Regions from separate parts of the Homo sapiens genome. Here regions 1 and 3 are each linked to region 2. Evidence: promoter capture Hi-C in 16 types of primary human blood cells and fetal thymus (Javierre and others, 2016). All regions are on one chromosome and are shown on one strand. The core of a region is centred on a gene start or on the middle of the fragment in contact, and the rest is flanking DNA. Distances in the headings are between cores, read along the strand shown.

Region 1 (2,977 bases), core at 395-2,894, 1.2 Mb before region 2:
CAGAAGCTCTTTAGTTTAATTAGATCCCATTTGCCAATTTTGGCTTTTGTTGCCATTGCTTTTGGTGTTTTAGACATTAAGACCTTGCCCATGCCTATGTCCTGAATGGTATTGTCTAGGTTTTCTTCTAGAGTTTTTATGGTTTTAGGTCTTACATTTAAGTCTTTAATCTATCTTGAGTTAATTTTTGTATAAGGTGTAAGGAAGGGATCCAGTTTCAGCTTTCTGCATATGGCTAGCCAGTTTTCCCAACACCATTTATTAAATAGTGACTCCTTTCCCCATTGCTTGTTTTTGTTAGGTTTGTCAAAGATCAGATGGTTGTAGATGTGTGGCATTATTTCTGAGGCCTCTGTTCTGTTCCATTGATCTATATATCTGTTTTGGTACCAGTACCATGCTGTTTTGGCTACTGAGCCTTGTATCAGGTAGTGTGAGGCCTCAGGCTTTGTTATTTTTGCTTAGGATTGTCATGGCTATGTGGGTTCTTTTTTGGTTCAATATGAAATTTAAAGTAGTGTTTTATTCTGTGAAGAAAATCAATGGTAGCTTGATGGGGATAGCATTGAATCTGTAAATTACTTTGGGTAGTATGGCCATTTTCACGATATCAATTTTTCCTATCCATGAGCATGGAATTTTTTTTCCAATTTTTTGTATCCTCTCTTATTTCCTTGAGCAGTGGTTTGTAGTTCTCCTTGAAGAGGTCCTTCACATCCCTTGTAAGTTGTATTCCTAGGCATTTTTTTCCTCTTTGTAGCAATTGTGAATGGGAGTTCACTTATAATTTTTTTTTTTAGACGGATGCTCGCTCTGTGGCCAGGCTGGGAGTGCAATGGCATGATCTCGGCTCACTGCAACCTCTGCCTCACAGGTTCAAGGGATTCTCCTGCCTCAGCCTCCTGAGTAGCTGGGATTACAGGTGTCTGCCACCAAGCCTGGCTAATTTTTGTATTTTTAGTAGAGAAGGGGTTTCGCCATGTTAGCCAGGCTGGTTTCCAACTCCTGACCTCAAGTAATCTTCCTGCCTTGGCCTCCCAAAGTGCTGGGATTACAGGCATAAGCCACTGCACCTGGCTCTACAATATATTTTCTTATCCTTTATTCTTAAAGCTTATTTACATTTTTATATTGAAGTAATTTCAAACTTACAGAAAAATTATAAGAATCATACTAAATAATTCATGTATATCTTTTAACCAGATTCACCCATTGTTAATATTTTGCTATATTTGCTTTATCATTCATCTTTATATCATATATATGAAAATATATGTAATATAAATGTATATATATTTCACGTGAAATATATATATTTGACACACGCACATGTATATTTATTTCTTTTCCCCCTGAATCATTTGAGAATAAGTTAGAGACATTATGCTCCTTCAAACCTTAGTAATTCAGTATTTATTTCCTAACAACAAGATAACTCTTTTATATGACCACAGTATAATTAATGAATTAAAGAAACTCGATGTTTAAGCATTAAACAATTTGACATATAGTCCACATTCCACTTTTGCTAGTTGTTCAATAATGCTTTTCATAGCATTGTTTCTTCTGGTCCAAGAAGAATGTTGCTTTTAGTTATCATCACTCTTAGCCCTTAGATTTCCTTCAATCTGGAATAGTTCCTCAGGGTTTCCTTGGTCTTTCACAACGTTTATATCTTAGAGACTACAGATAGTTATTTTGTAGAAGTTGCTCATCTTGAATTTGTCTCGTGTTTCCCCTGGTCAGATTTGGCCTATGCATTTTTTTTTTTTTTTTTTTTTGGTAAAAGTACTACATAAGTGATATTGTTTGCTTCTCAGTGCATAATGGTAGGAGTCAACTGATGATGATTTGGGATTGTAACTTTGATCACTTGGTTAAGATGGTGTCCAGTAGTTTTCTACATAGTAAAGTTACTATTTTACTTTCTGTAATAAATAAGTAATTTGGGGGAGGTACTTTGAAATGGTGGACATATCCTTCTCCTCATCAAACTTTTACAAATGCATATTCATTATTGATTTTTGTCTGCATGAACCATCATTATGATGGTTTCAAAATAATGATTTTCTTATACCTTCATTTCTTCTATGTTTATAAGTTGACATTCTCATTTCTAGTAAGGATGAATTGTTGTGTCCTCCAGGGTGGAAGAGACCTTGGGTAATAAGCTTGCCACTGAGTGGCTGCTTTATGTCCTCAAGGGATTGTACCATATCAAGCACTCAGCATTGGTGTCTGTTGCTAATGGTCAGGCATTCAGTAGTGGTGGTAGCTAGATCAGCCTTGGAGAGAGAGAGCCCATCATTTCAGGCCATCACGACTAATCCATTCATTTATGGGCCCTTTGTAAGGATTGAGATGGCTGAGGACAGGGGCTGACAGGCATTCATTAGACCAGTCATCCTGTCCATATGCTTATTCAGTGCTTCTTCTGCCACACGTGCTCTCTGGTGGGCTCTAGTGTGAGACACAAAGATCAACACATTATGTGCCCATTCTTATAGCTCCAGCCACATGCCTCTTCCTCAGACATGCTTGGTTTCAATCCTCTAGTGTTGTTCCCTTGAGGCCCTTGACCAAGCAACCAAGCCATTCTCCACCACCTAGAAGTCTGTGTATATTCTTACTTTTGGCCGCTTCTCTCCAGACACAAAGCAGATGACCACTGGACTTGAATTGGCACCCAGAGTTATTTTGGGTGTGTCTTTAGTGCAGCAACAGTCCATATTTTTAGCTCACGCCAGCATATCATGCTAGCCTAATCCTTATAAAGCCCTTTTCCTGCTCCTTTTCTATTCTGTCAACTGTCTGTGGAGAAATCCCCAAGGGGCCATAGGTATTATGTCTGGAATTGGTTCTCTCCGAGGGGTTCTTGGTCTCGCTGACTTCAAGAATGAAGCCATGGACCCTCGCAGTGAGTGTTGCAGTTCTTAAAGATGGTGTGTCCGGAGTTTGTGTTTTCAGATGTTCAGAT
Region 2 (3,054 bases), core at 388-2,887:
GCAGAGAAAGCTTCCCTTGCATGAGGAAGTCATTGCCCAGCCTCTTCTCTGCTCTCTGTGTGCAGCTTCTCCCTCCCTGGCCTAGGGCCCTGACCCAGAATGACTCTTCAGCCCACGATTTTAATCGAAGGCCTCTAATCAACCTGTGGTACTACATGCTACACAAGATTCTCAGAAATCCCTAAGCTTTCTCATGAGCCTCCCACCCTGCTGGGAAATAAGCTGACTTATCAATTAAAGAATATCCAAAGATGTTAAGCCACTTAATCCTCCCCAAAACTCAGTGCGGTAGGGGTTGTTACCTCCCATTATACGAAAGGAAAGTGAGGCTTGGGAAGTAAAGAGACTTGTCCAAGATCACCTTCTGGAGCCACATTTTACACCACAGGTAAGAGAAAAGGGATCCGAGAGGGCACGGACACTGTGTCTTCAGACTGAGTGGGGAAGTACCATTTACCTGGGTACTTATTGGGTGCAAGTTGCATGCCCCCGGTGCTAATACACAAGGGACAAATTTATGGGCCTCCTAAAACTGTGGACAGTGCACCCGTCCAGCCAACTTCATGGGTGCACCGTGAGGCTCTGGTGATGTGGACAGGCTTATAAAACACTCTCCATACTAAGATGAGGTTGTGTTCCTGTGTCTAGGAAACGCTGGAAATTAAGTGTACAGCAATCAAAAAACCTTGACATCATCCTTGATGTCTCTCTTTTTCGCACACTCCAATTCACTCCATTAGGAAACTGTATTGGCAGAATCTAGTGAATCTTGTCCTTCAAGGCCTCTCTCTGCAAGGCTCCCATGAGCCCTGGGGGCTTATGGAGAGTTCTGGGTGGGCAGAGGAAGCCAGACTGCGTTAGGGAAGCAAATTTGGGACCTAAATTTCCTAAGAAGGTTTTAGGGGATAGGGACCCCAATCTCTAAGACCCCAGGATTCTGTTAAGATTTATTTTCTCATTCCAAATAAATGTTCACTGGCAAGCCCTAATTCTGTCTTCTCTTTCTTAAGCAGCCCTCCCTTCCTTCTCCCCACACAACTGTGTATGCTTCAGGCCCCAGAAATCCTTCCCTGCTTTGAGGTCTGGCGTTTACCAGGGCAGGGCTTGAGAATAGAGGTGTAAATTTGTCAGAAGGAAACAGGGGCCGCGCAGTAAGAGAGTAGATCCTCATATAACATGGCAGAAAGTCAATGGATAAATCAAGAAATCGCTATGTAAGTTTCTTTTTTTATTTTTTTATTTTATTTATTTATTTTTTTTTTGCGACAAGCGGGTGACCACTAGAAGAAATTAACGGAGGAATTGTTAAAAAGAGCTGTGATGGGAGGGAGAAGTGGCCTGTTGCTTTCATTATAAGCAAATCTAGATAATTTTATTTTCTAATAAGTAAGTGGGCGTTACTTTCATGTATTTTTTTAAAAGAAAATTAAATAAAAATACAAAACAAACAGAATACAAAACAGGAGAATAAAAAAGCAAACACGCACGCAACACAAAAGAGCCTTGGCGGTTGGGAGCCAGCGGGCGGGGGCGGGGGCAGGGGAGAGGGCGGGGCTTAGGACCCTGGGCGGGGCCAGGGCCGGGTCTCCTTAGGGCCCGCCCCAGCGAAGGGGCGGGGCGCAGATCTGTTTCCCTCAGACTCCATCTGCCCGGGGCCGCTAAGGGAGCGCAAGGTCAAGTTCGCCTTGGCCCCGCCTCCAGCTCAGGTACTAGGGGATCTAGACCTGAGGCTGCCCGGGCCGGAGGCAGCCTTGAGTCCCGAGACCAAACGTCGTTTCCCTCTCGGACCTCGGGCGCCGGGCCGCGCGCTGACCGACAGCCCCTGCTAGGCCCAGCAGGTCCCCTAGTCCCCCGCAGTCCCCCGAGACTCGCCGAGCGCCGTTGCTGAGCCCTGCAAATAGCAGGTAAGCGCAGCGTGGGCCCCTCGTCAGCCCACTAGGACCTGGATCGCGGCTGAATGCCCGGGCCCACGTGACTCCTGGCCCCTAACTGAGTCCTGGGAGTCCCCGCTGGGGCGACAGGTGGCGGCGGAGTGCGGAGCCATCCGGGGTGGCGCGAACCGGGGGGACAGCTCCGCGCTGCCTCTGCGCGCCGGCGGTTCTCGCTGCAGCGTGTCAACCTAACCCCCAGCTCCCCTTTGGCTATGACCAGAGTCCCGGAGACGTGGGTTCGGATCCCACCTTTAGCACTCGTGCACTCAAAGGTTAAAAATATAAGCACAGTGTCTAACAAATACTTAACGTGTTCCACTCAGTGTCCGCTGCTGGGCTAAGTGCTGGGGTTACAGTAGCAGGCCAAAAAATGTGGTGCCCTCCCCCGTGCAGCTCACAGTCCAGTGGGGGGAGACCGACAGCAAATGGATATCTATGCAAACAAGTGTGAACGTTAAAACTGTGGTCAGAGCTATGAAGATTGAAATTCTAGGGTGCTGGAGAGATTTTATCAGGGCCCCCAGCTACAAAGGCTGCTGGAACTAAAACTTTAGAGAATTCCCGGGCGGGGAACAACAGAGCAAACTCATTTTGTTGGGAGAGAATGTGGCTTGAGGAAAGGAGGGTTGGTGGGGCTGGCCTGCAGAGAGCTGGGGGGAAAGCAAGTTCCTTAACCTTAACGTTCTCCTCTGTAAAATGGGATTGTTCTACCCATTGAGAATGGAAATGGTGAATGTAAATGACTTAGCACTGCGTGATGGGTGCTGGATGTTACTCTGCACTAAACATCCAAGGCTTGATGTTGTTCTGGACTAAACACAGTGTGCCTGCCTCTCAGCAAAGTCACTTCCCCTCTCCTTGAGTCCTGTTTCTTCCTCTATCAAATAAGTGGTTCTGAGTAGAATCTCTCAAACAGCCTGTTCTCTAAAATGATGACTGGTTTAGTTGTTCATTCTTGAAACATTTAACTGGCGCCCACTTTACCCTGGCTCTGAGGATTCAGAGAGAAATCAGACAGGGGCCCTGCCCTCCTGGAGCCCATGTCCGGTGGGCCAGGTGAAATAAAGTGACAGTTCCACCCTGGCACAACCCAGAGAAAGGGTTCTTACCCACTGGCCTTGCA
Region 3 (2,821 bases), core at 266-2,765, 1.2 Mb before region 2:
GGACTGTGGTGAGCAATGTGTAGCCCTCTCTTCAGCCTCCTTTGTTTTTTTTCACTTGGAATTCTCTTTGCTGTGCCTTGTCCTTAGTGGATCACAGTGTCCTCTGCACAAGATTGTCTTGTTTTCTAGGGTGAGGGCTCAAGGTCTCTTGACTGGCCTCAGGGGGATGGTCAGTAGTCAGAGTGGAGCCACTTGTGTTCCTCCATGCCAGTTGGAGTCCTGGGGCTCAGAAGGGTTGGAGGAGAAGGTAGAGGAAGGAAGCGATTGTAGGAGAAGAATAAAGGAGGAAGGAGAAAAGAAATAACAATATGGAAAAGGCAAAGCTCTATAGACCCCTGGTAGATGGGTTTCTCCCATCCTCATCCCCCAGCCCTGCTTTCTTGGGTCTGCACTTGGGCCTGCACTTCTGTCCCACCATCATGTTAATGACACACAAGCATACCCAATTTCAAATTCTACCTCTTCTTACTTGTTCTGACTTTAGCAAGTTCTTTAAATTCCTTGATACTCCATTCCCTTTTGTGCATTGTGAGATGACAGACAAGGCTTCCTGGACAGTGTCCACCCCACCAGCTAAGTCAGCAGTGTAAGCCATATCCTACCTGGGCATGAGGTTGATGGGAAGAACCCTGACATCTGACTCTTGCTGGGGCTGGGTAGGATGCCTGGTAGAAAGCATTATAGGGTGTCCTTGCTTCTGTCAGAGCTGGCAGGGGTTGTCTGTGTTAGCTGAGTTCTTCACTAAGAGTAAACTGATTGTATCTTCTAACATGATTGGCATAATTCATATGGTGGAGGGAGATAATTCTCTACTGCTTTCATTTACATACAAAGATTGGTGGAGGAGAAAAGGAGGATCACATTTCAAATTCACCAGCAGTTGCTAGAAGCTGACAGCCCAAGAGATGGAGCTGAAGAACACGGATGTGTCTGGGCTCTGGGAACTCCAAAATGAGTGTCTTGGGTACTGTCATGACTATCTCTCTTTTCATATCTTGTTTTTTCTCCTCTTGGCTCCTTTTTGTAAACATGCTTCATTCTCTCCCTGAAAACTGGCTTTCTTTTTCTGCTGAAACATGGCATTCAGCACCTCTAGAGATTGATACATTTCAGCTGATGCTTAAGCAGCAGCTTACATTGGCTTAAGCTGATGCTGAAATTTATCAATCACTAGAGGTGCTGGATGCCGTCAGAGAGGGGCTGACCCAATTGCTTCTCTGGTCCCGATTCCAAAATGCCCAGGGAGGGGCCTCATTGGCTGAACATGGAATAGATGGCCACAACTTGACCAGTCACTGGGGTAATGTAAGAACCGTGTAAACCCCCAGGATTATTACAGATGGATAAGGGGCAGGATTTAAAATAAGTGCTTCTACATAGGCAATTCCGTAGGTGTTCACAAGGGGAATCACATGTGAGGAGTGTCTTCAGGGGAAGGCTGGAGTGTCTGCAGAAAAATTAACAGTGAGAAACTCCTAGAGTCACCTGAACAAAGGATATGATGGGCAAGGTTGTCTGCTAGTCAATCTTACGCTGTTTACTTTGCTAGGATGTAAAGCTATTCTGTCTCCCAAAACATAACGCAAAGCCTACCATATGCTTTTTAATGCTTTGCGAGAGTGATCTCTGCGTGAAATCAAAGGCTCTGCATCTCAGGTCTGCACTGGTGCCCAGCAGAAGGGGGAGATCAGCTGTGGGCACAGCATGTGTTGAGGTAAGTGTGTTTGGAACTAGAATTTACCTCAAGACATGAAATCCCTGGGAATTTTCCAAAACCTTGAAAATAGCATTGGGTTTTCCACAAAATAACAGGTGCTGCTTAAGCCTACTTTAGTTATTATCAGTGAATTGGAGACCTCAGTTGAAATTTGTGTTCGTGTACCAAATGGATGTAAGCCTTATGTCACAAATAAGAGTTAAATGATATCTATATAGAGAGTTCAGCGTCAAGTAAGCATGCAGTAAATGATAGTTCCCGCCTCCCTCACCTACTCATTGCTAGTATTCAGGGACAATGGTTTCAAATGCTTCCTAAGATTTACTTTTGTGTGAAAGAAAATATTTTAGAAAAAGAAACAGACCTAGCTTTTCATCCATTTTGTCTCCTACTAGCTGAGTGATTTAACCTGTCAGACGTTGGTCTCTGCATCTACATGCTGAAGGTATTGATACCCATCTCAGGTGTGGGTACAATGGTGGGGCGAGAGAAGGCATGTAAAGCATTCTACTGCCTGAGGCACACTTAGGTACCCACAAAACAGTGATTACATCTCTCTCATATGTTTTTCTCATTTCTTTAATTTCACTACAAACTTCTTGAGGGCAGAGCCATGTTTATTAATAACATTTGATCTTTCTAAGGTACTATGGTATTTGCAAAGTCTTTTTTACACCCCCTGTTTATTGCAAAGTTTTCTTCAGAGCCTGTATTTCCCATTTGATTCTCATAATGGCCTTGTGAAGCAGGTAGAACAGATCCTAATTTTTTCCACTTTAAGAAGAGGCTGACTGAGTTGTGTTTAGCATAGAGCCTGGCATTTGTTGGGTGCTGAATGTTTGTTGAGTGGTTTTGAGTGAGCTCCACATGTGTAGGTACTCTATGCCTGCTGATTGAATCTATGCATTTGTTAATTCATTAAGCAAATATTTATTGACCACCTATTACGTGCCCATCTGCAAAGAACAAAAATCCTGCCCTTGTGGCACTCACCTTCTAGGGAAATGAATGAATAAATTAATGATCAAATGAATTGAGAAGAAAATGAGGAGGAGCTGCTTGAATATCAGTCCTGGATATTTTCTTTATGACTTTTGAAAAAGG

What was found. Contacts are between HindIII fragments. The CHiCAGO score rates a contact against its expected background, and 5 or more counts as called.
Region 1: a contact is called between a fragment that was not itself captured here and the fragment with the promoter of NMNAT3 in region 2, in 1 of 17 cell types (endothelial precursors). The highest score is 5.8, in endothelial precursors.
Region 3: a fragment that was not itself captured here is called in contact with the fragment with the promoter of NMNAT3 in region 2 in 2 of 17 cell types (monocytes and naive B cells); the score reaches 7.1 in monocytes.

Annotation. Positions count from the first base shown.
Region 1 is chr3:140,878,993-140,881,969 of GRCh38, reverse strand. No RefSeq gene overlaps it. Among named protein-coding and RNA genes, the nearest start is that of SLC25A36, 61 kb to the left of the region's middle. The HindIII fragment of the contact is 1,058 bases long and covers 1,116-2,173 here.
Region 2 is chr3:139,676,555-139,679,608 of GRCh38, reverse strand. It overlaps NMNAT3 (nicotinamide nucleotide adenylyltransferase 3), which reads left to right and starts at 1,637. Exons shown (of 7, transcript NM_001401600.1): 1 at 1,637-1,904. RefSeq lists a silencer at 1,534-1,583. The HindIII fragment of the contact is 2,876 bases long and covers 189-3,054 here.
Region 3 is chr3:140,846,966-140,849,786 of GRCh38, reverse strand. No RefSeq gene overlaps it. Among named protein-coding and RNA genes, the nearest start is that of SLC25A36, 93 kb to the left of the region's middle. The HindIII fragment of the contact is 8,464 bases long and covers 1-2,821 here.